2 separate regions of the Homo sapiens genome follow, and region 1 is linked to region 2. Evidence: promoter capture Hi-C in human tissues and cell types (Jung and others, 2019). All regions are on one chromosome and are shown on one strand. Each heading gives the region's core, a stretch centred on a gene start or on the middle of the fragment in contact. The rest is flanking DNA. Distances are from core to core; before and after follow the strand shown. Region 1 overlaps ANKFY1 (ankyrin repeat and FYVE domain containing 1). Region 2 holds the start of CAMKK1 (calcium/calmodulin dependent protein kinase kinase 1).

What was found. Contacts are between HindIII fragments. The study calls those that stand out against the background at their distance.
Region 1: a fragment that was not itself captured here is called in contact with the fragment with the promoter of CAMKK1 in region 2 in 2 of the 25 tissues and cell types used here (dorsolateral prefrontal cortex and lymphoblastoid cells).

The regions. Positions count from the first base shown.
Region 1 is chr17:4,256,022-4,260,445 of GRCh38, reverse strand. All of the region lies in intron 1 of ANKFY1 (ankyrin repeat and FYVE domain containing 1), which reads left to right. Among named protein-coding and RNA genes, the nearest start is that of ANKFY1, 5.7 kb to the left of the region's middle. The HindIII fragment of the contact is 5,645 bases long and covers 1-4,424 here.
Region 2 is chr17:3,890,719-3,894,921 of GRCh38, reverse strand. It overlaps CAMKK1 (calcium/calmodulin dependent protein kinase kinase 1), which reads left to right and starts at 1,869. Exons shown (of 16, transcript NM_032294.3): 1 at 1,869-1,983. RefSeq lists silencers at 1,423-1,962, 1,993-2,172, 2,313-2,562. The HindIII fragment of the contact is 23,333 bases long and covers 1-4,203 here.

The DNA of each region.
Region 1 (4,424 bases), core at 1,116-3,615, 370 kb before region 2:
GGGGTTTTGTGATGTTGTCCAGGCTGGTCTTGAACTCCTGGGCTCAAGCCATTCACCTGCCTGGGCCTCCTGAAGTGCTGGGATTACAGGTGTGAGCCACCGCTCCCAGCCCTAAGCTTCGTTTGTAAGTGAACTACTTCAAAAGGTTCCAATTAAAAGTTTGCTTTTAACTTTTCCTCCTAGATTTTGCTCTCTCACAGCCTAATTTCACAGTTTCTAGTGTTCCCTTTAAGACATCAATCAGATCATGTCTCTCCTACTCTTCTTAATACTCCTGCCCCTCAATGCCCAACTCTCACACTTCTCCGTAATCTTAAAATATATTCCAGTTCTCTGTTAAGTATTAACAGGGTGTGGGCCCCACTTAACACTTCGAGCTTATTTCCTACTTTCATTCACTGTGCCCCTGCCACACTGACTTTTTTGCGTTCTTTGTGTGTGCCCGACATGCTGCTACCTCTGCGTCTTTGTCCCTGCAGTTTCCTTGGCCTGGAACAGTCCTCCGCTGTTTCTCCACACAACTGACCCACTTTATTCACTCAGTGTCTGTTCAGTTGTCATCTCATTAGAGAGCATCCCTCACTGGAATATAAACCCCATGAGGGCAGGAACTTGGTCTGTTTTGCTCACTCCTGTATCTCCCAGCTTAGAATCATGGCTGTGGTTGAAGGAATGTATGAATTTATTGAGCATCACCTGCTAGCCATCAAGAAAAGTTGCCTGGATACATCCTTAGCCTCTTGTCAAGCAAACTGGCTGGTCCACCTTTTATTATACTCTGCATAACCTAAGTCTGCTAGGAGCTACCTAACCTACTTTTCATCCAGCCCATTTTTGTTTTAGCAACTAAAATACAATGTTTAAGGCCGGGCACGGTGGCTCACGCCTGTAATCTCAGCACTTTGGGAGGCCAAGGTGGGCGGATCACTTGAGGTCAGGAGTTCCAGACCAGCCTGACCAACATGGTGGAACCCCATCTCTACTAAACATACAAAAATTAGCCAGGCATGGTGGCATGTGCCTGTAATCCCAGCTGCTCAGGAGACTTGAGTCAGGAGAATCACTTGAACCCGGAAGGTGGAGGTTGCAGTGATCCGAGATCGCGCCACCGCACTCCAGCCTGAGCAACAGAGACTGTCTCAAAAAATAATAATAATAAAATAAAATGTAGTGTTTAAGAGCTCAGACTCTGCAGCTGGACATGGATTTAAATCCTAGTTTAAGCTGTGATCATAAGCAAGTCAATTAATTGCTGTCAGTCTCAGTGTCCTCAGCTTTAAAAGGGGGATCATCTGTAGCTCACAAGTAGCTGTGGGAATCCTAGGATATTTCTCAGTTGCAGGAAGAGCCTTTTTCCACAGCGCCTAATGTTTCTTCCACAGCGACTGATGCTTTTCCCACAGCGCCTGATGCTTTCACCCTGGTGCACAGTCTTTCTCTTGAGTCTCCTCTAAAATCACTCTCCATTTCTTTTCCTCAGTAAAAGTAAAAATTGAAAAAAATGTAATTTTTTTGTAAATAGTATATTGAACAGAAAATTTATCATAAACTTTTGTTAGCTTGATGGAATTTGATCAGAAAAATACTTTTGACAACAACCCAAGCAAAATGGGGAAAACATTCCATGTCCTGGGTATTCATTGACCAACACAATAGTCACTAGCCACATGTGGCTACTTAAATTTGATTAAAATTAAATAAAATTTAAAATTAACTTCTCAGTTGTACTAGTCCTATTCCAAGTACTCAGTAGCCATGTGGCTAGTAGCTCCCCCTAATGGACAGCACAGATTAATAGAACACTTGCACCATTGCCAGAAGTGCTTTGGATAGTCCTGTTCCAGAAAATGCTTCATTAGTGGAGGCTGGTAGAAATAAGGAAAGAAGGAACTTTGCTGTTTCCACTTTTTTTTTTTTTTTTTGAGTTGGAGTCTGGCTCTGTCTCCCAGGCTGGAGTGCAGTGGTGCGATCTCGGCTCACTGCAAGCTCCCCTCCCAGGTTCACACCATTCTCCTATCTCAGCCTCCCGAGTAGCTGGGACTACAGGCGCCCGCCACCAAGCCTGGCTAATTTTTTGTATTTTTGGTAGAGATGAGGTTTCACCGTGTTAGCAAGGATGGTCTTGATCTCCTGACCTCGTGATCCGCCCGCCTCGGCCTCCCAAAGTGCTGGGATTACAGGCGTGAGCCACCGCGCCCGGCCCTACTTCTGAAATTTATCTGTTTATTGTTTTACTTATTGAACAAATGTCCCAGGTCATTGATAATTATATATAGTCCAGAGACCTCTTAAGGACTGTTCCTTTTATACCATTCTTTTCTTTTCTCTCCCTTTCCTGGTGACTACTGTCACCAGCTGTAGCTGTTAGCTTTCTCCTTGTGAATTATTTTTACTGAGAAATAAAATTTATCCATTAGTGGTTATGTCAAAGTAAAGCTACTGAATTGTGCTGAGATACACAGGATTCTGTCACTGGCAAGGTGATTTGCTGTAGGCAATTTGAGATACTATCATGATTTACAGCCTTGCTGAACCAAATGAGAAATTGCTATGTCCCCAGAATCTCCTGTTGAACCTGTGGTATTTATTGAACTCCATCTGGTAAGGTACTGTCGGGAGGAGGAGATAACCATGGAATGGGTATAGAGGGAGAAGTAATTGATAGTTAAATACGAATAGCCAGAACTAAAGCTTATTCACAGGGAGTTCTGAAGTCTAGGAGGGGAGATAAAAGAAATTGTATATGAGAAACTATATTTTAAGGTGAAGGGTAAAAAATGCTTAGGAGTTACTTTGAAAACTCAGGGAGAGATTTTTTAAGGAAGTAATGGGGAATGTATTTTGGATAATCAGGGAAAGTCTTGTTGCAGGAGACATTGCTTGAACTGAGCTTTGAAAAATGGCCCTCCTTTGGACATGGGGACATGAGATTGAGGAGAGGTCACTGTTCTAGGTGGAAGGAATTAGTGGGATGTGAAGTTGGAAGAGTATGTTAAGGGCCAGATTATTAAGGGCATTGGTTCAGCATTTGGATTTTATTCTGAGACTCATGGAGCGATACTACCGAAAGGAATCAGCCACGGTAGCGACAGAACAGGAATTGTGTGAGGCATGGCGAAATGACTGCAGTGTAGAGGATGGATTGGGAAGAAAGGAAGTCAGAGAGCAAGCTGTAGCAGTTGATGGTGAGCCATTTGGTAGAGGCTGTGGGGCTGGTGAGGACTGATGGGAGAAAGACCACAGAACGTATGAAAGACAGGACTTTTGAAACCTGGTTGAATGTTGATGAGAGAGAATCAAAGATGACTCAAGTTCTAGGTCTGGATGACTCAGACAAATGGCTGAGCTGCTAAGAGGTAGAGGAGGAATAGATTGGAGAACAAGTATTTTGACCTCACTTTTGGACATATTTGCTTTGCCCAGTATACTTCTATGTGGTGATGTCTAAGTTGGAAGTGTTTCCAGTCAGGAGTTTGGGGTGGAAATGGCTAGTTAGCTAATATTTGTTATGCATCTCTTATGAAACCAGCCCAATTGTCACTGCTATACACGGTGAGCTTTTGAAAGATGTGTAAGTCATGCCACCAACTGTAACATGAGGCAGACGAACCTAGCAGAGTTGAATTGCATTCAGGAAAAACGTATTTCACGGTAGGTGCAAGCTACTGTGCCAGAGATGACAAAATGAGCAAGACACAACCTTAACCTTAATGGAACTTGCAGAACAGAGAGGGGAAGGCAAAGTATTTCAAATAAGCATGCATGTTGCTTTCTAGTTATACCAGGTTTTCTCTTCTATATTCATGATTAATGGCACTACTTTTCAGCCAGACTCTCAAGTCAGTCACCAAAAAGTTATCTCCGACTCCCCCCAAGATCTGCATCAGTCACCAAATCCCCCGGATGCTGTACACCTCTCACATCTGTGCTTTCCTCTCTCCCTCGTTCCATTAGTACATAGTTCTCAACCTGGAGAACCCTGCACAGTACAGTTAACCTGGGAGTTTTTTCTTTTTTTGAGATGGAGTCTCGCTCTATTGCCCAGGCTGGAGTGCAGTGGTGCGATCTCAGCTCACTGCAGGCTCCACCTCCCGGGTTCACGCCGTTCTCCTGCCTCCGCCTCCTGAGTAGCTGGGACTACAGGCGCCCGCCACTGCGCCTGGCTAATTTTTTGTATTTTTAATAGAGACGGGGTTTCACTCTGTTAGCCAGGATGGTCTCGATCTCCTCAGTTCGTAATCCGCCCGCCTTGGCCTCCCAAAGTGCTGGGATTACAGGCATGAGCCACCGCGCCTGGCCACCTGGGAGCTTTTAAACATCCATATTTGTGGGCTGGGCGTGGTGCCTCACACCTGTAATCCCAGCACTTTGGGAGGCCGAGGCGGGCAGGTCACAAGATCAGGAGTTTGAGACTAGCCTGAGCA
Region 2 (4,203 bases), core at 620-3,119:
TAATAACAACTTCTTTTTTTTTTTTTTTTTAAATAGAGACAGAGTTTCACTATGTGGACCAGGCTGTTCTCAAACTCCTGGGCTCAAATGATACGCTCCACCTCAGCCTTCCAAAGGGCTGGGATTACCGGCATGAGCTACTGCACCCGGACAATAATAGCTTTTAGTAGGGTTGAGGAAAGACCTGTAAACAGCACCTGGCATACAGTCGAGCTCTGCCCCTCAATCTATCCACCCTCTCAATGGTGGAGTCCACTAGTTGTTCCGGATATCTGTTCTCCCGGTAGCAATTCAGTCCTTGGTTCTTGGTTGGGCATGTGGCTGCCCAGAATGGAAGCTGCATTTCCCAGCTTTCTCTTGCAGCTGGGTCTGGTCATGTTAAGTAAGCTCAAGCGGTGTATGTGAAAGTGCCACGTGGCAACTTCTGGGAACTTTCCTGAAAAGAGAGCTGGTGCAGACCCTCTGCCCTCTTCTTCATCCTTTTCTCCACTCCACTGCCTGGAATGCGTTATGTGATTGCTGGAGCTCTAGCTGGTATCCTGAACCATGAGGTCAAAAGCCACACTCAAGTTGCTGGAATTATTCATTCAACAACATCCACTGAGCACCTGTGCCATGCGACAGGCTGTGTGCTGGACGAATCAGGCACAGTGCTTGCCATCCAGGAGCTCCCAGTCCCAATGAGGAACCAGCAGGTAAACAGATGCCAGGTACAAGGAAGTACCTGGGTGGGGCCACTAACCCATGCTGGAAGTGGGGAGGTCATGGAGAAGGTTTCCAGGCAGAAGTAGGATTGAATTGAACCCTGAAAGACGAGTAGGCGTTAAACAGGCAGGTGGCTGGGAGTAAGGCTATACAGGGCTTGATTAGACCTATTCTCACGGTGAGCCATAGAAAATGCCTCTCGGTGGACTTGTGTTCCTGAAAACTTGCTCTGGGTGCCAGGGAGAGAAAGGCTAGTAGGAGGTGAGACTGGATGGGGCTGGAGGCCAGGGAGGAGGCTGCTGCAGCAATCAGGGACAAGATGGTGGTAGCCTGAGCTAAGGGAGGGGAAGTGGGGTGGAGAGGAGTGGGCCGATTCCAGGGATAGTTAAGAGGCAGTATGGCAGGGCCTGGAGATGGACTGGTTGGAGCAGGAAACAGGGAGGCAGCAGGTGACTCCCAGGCTCCTGGCTCCACTTCGAGACAGGGACGCAGGAGGTTAGATTTGGGGGAAGGATATGGGGCAAGTGGTGGTGCCAGAGGATTCACACGCGGAGGCGTTAGGGGAAGAGGTGGCGGCAGAGTCCCCAGGAACAGCCACAGCGAAGGTCACCTCACTGTCCTGCTGAGTTCCCTCTACTCCCTCGGCCCTCGCTAGGCCATTCCTGTCGCCGGCTCACCGAGCAAGCACTTCACTCTGTGCTAAGCCACCTCTCGGCCTCTCTGCCCCCGCCCCGCAGAAGCTACACTCCTGGGCCTGCCATTCAAGGCCTTCCTCCCCGGGCCTCGCCCCTCCCTCGCACGCACCGCGCCTCGCCCGGGAGGGAGGGGCGCTCTGGCTCCTGCAGGCCGGGATGGGGGCGCAAAGGGTTTGGCGGGGAAGCACGGTCCCCTGCAGGCCCAGGAGAAGGGCCCACGCCGCGGCCGGGAGGGACTTCGGGGACCCCAGGACGCCGGGGGCGTGGCGAGGTCGGCCCCGCCGCAGGGGAGGGAGGGCCCCTACCGCGCCGCCCACCGCGGTCCCTTAGTCCAGGAGGGGGCGGGAGTCCCGGGCTCCGATTGGGCGGCGCTGGCGGGGCCGTTCGCTCCGACCAATGAGCGCCGGCCGGGCGCGGCGGTGGGCGGGGCAGCGAGCGCTGCCCGGAGCCGCGGCGCCCGCGGGCTGAGCTCGGCGATCTGGGCCCCAGCGAGGCGGTGGGGCGGGGCGGGGCGGGGCGGGGCGCGCAGCAGGAGCGAGTGGGGCCGCCCGCCGGGCCGCGGACACTGTCGCCCGGCGCCCAGGTAGGGATCGGCGGGGCGGGGACGCGGGCGAGGAGCAGGAGGACGAACGCCTTAACACCTGCCCCGAGCCTGCAAGGGAGAGGCGGGGGGGGTCTGCCAGGCCGCGTCTACGAGGGAGCTGGGATCTGGTCAGGGCGGGGATCCTTCCCCTTCTGTCTGCGGGGCCGGGTCTGCGGGGTGCCTCGCGGAGTCTGCTCGGGTCTGCGCCGGCCGCCGGGACCGCATCGCCGCGGGTGCCCCGCCGTCTGCGTTCTTCCCCGCTTCTGTCTGCGGACCGCATCCATCCCCGGTGCACTGTCCCCCGCGCCCGGCTCCTGGTGGAGGCCACGTCTGTGCGGAGTGGGCCCGGCCCGGGGCACCCACGTGCGGTTCTCCGCGGAGCGCTCCTCCCACGGCCCGCCGGAGCGTCTTCCTGCAGGAGCCGGGGGCGGGGTGGGAGATGAATGGGGCGGCGGCGGCGCGCGGCTCAGGCTGCGCAGGGTCCTGCCTTGGCTGGGGCGAGAGGGGGCGGCAGAGGCGGGCGCTGCGGCTTCGGGGCCCGGGAGGCGCAGGGCTGGTGGCTGGGGGGGTGTCCACGTGCGCAGGGACCTGCGTGTGCTGTTTGGAGGCGGGTGTGCGTGTGTCACGTGGACGCGGGAGTGTGCCTGTGTCTGCGTGGGGGGTGCAGGACAGGATGGAGTGGTGTGTGAGGGCGGGTCACGCGGACACGGGCGTGTGCCTGTCAGGGGAGGGGGTGTGCTCAAGTCTTGGCGTTGCAGGGCTGTGCAGAGAAGGCTGTGTCACAGGCCACAGGACCGGGCCTTGGTGGTGTCCGCAGGGCGGGCACAGGAGTGTGGGAGGGGCACACAGCCTGTGCGCGCTGGAGGATCCCAGGGAAGTGGCGCTGGCCTCCCCAAGCCCTGCCCTCTTTCCTCCAGTACATACAAATTGACCCCCCACTGCGTCCCAGGCGCACACACTCTGGGGACCCTTCGCCTCTTCCTCGGTCTCCCACCGTCAGTCCTCACAGCAGCCATGGGAGTCGTTTTAAACCTCACCTAACCGAGGCACTCCCCTGCTCACAACCTCCCCCTGGCTTTGGGGGCCTCCTGGGCTCTGTCCACCAAGCTCTCCCCACCCCCAAACCAAGCCCGGAGTCCCAGCCAGGAAATGACTCTCCTATATGCACAGTGCAAACTTCCATCCTCGCCTCATCCTGAAATCCTGCTCAGTGCTCAGAAGAGAGCTCAGGTGCCACCTCCTCTAGGAAGCCATCCCTGAGGCCAGCACAATGAGTGAGGGGGCTTTCTCTCCAGATGTAACTCCTCTTGCTATCAGGTGCCTCTTATGTGGGGAAGACTCCACTCCAGCCACGTCAGCCTCCCTGCTGTTCTTCATACTGAGCAAGCACTGTCCCCTCATGGCGTTTGCACCTGCTGGTCCCTGCACCTGAAATGCTCTTCCCCAGATAACTACACTGCCTACTGCCCCTTCCTTCCTTCAGGTGTCTGCTCCAGTCCTGCTCCCAAAAGGCCTTCCTCAACTACACTGTATCAGCAGCATCTCCCAGCCCCTTTCTCTTGATCCTTCTTACTCGGCTGTATTTTTCTTCCTATATGTACCACTTGACATATCATATCTGAATCACTGGCTTTCTTGTTTGTTGCTTCTTGCCCCCACGAGAAATTAAACTGTATGAGAGCAGAGACTTGGTCTTTTTGGTTCACTGCTGTATCTCCCCACACAGGCTTGCACAGAGTCTGGCAGACAGCAGGTGCTCCGTGACTATTTGTGCTTGCATCCCAGGCGTCCATGTCCCTGGCTGCTCCCTAGCCTGTGACCCCCCCCCCAACCTTGCCCCCAGTCTGAGGCCACTTCTGCTCCTCTATCCATGACATTCCGAGTTCCTGGAAGGCCAGGTCTGGGAGAACTATAACCACATTTGCATGTTGGAAATCCCTCCAGCAGCTGGTGTGGAGGATGGGGTAGGGTGGGGTGGAGGTGTTAGCCTGGAGTCAGGGAAGACCCACATAGTGGGAAACGAAGCAGTGGGTAGAATCTGGACTTCTAAGGGGTTTGACTTGGTGAGCTCACCCAGCAGGTAGTGGGGAGATCAAGGAGGGCTCAGAAGAGGCGATGTCTGAGCTGTCCTCCAGGCAGCAGAGGAGAGGGAGGTGTGTTCCTGGCAGAAGGCACAGCTTGTACTGAGGCCTGGCAGCAGAACAGAGTATGCAATTTGGG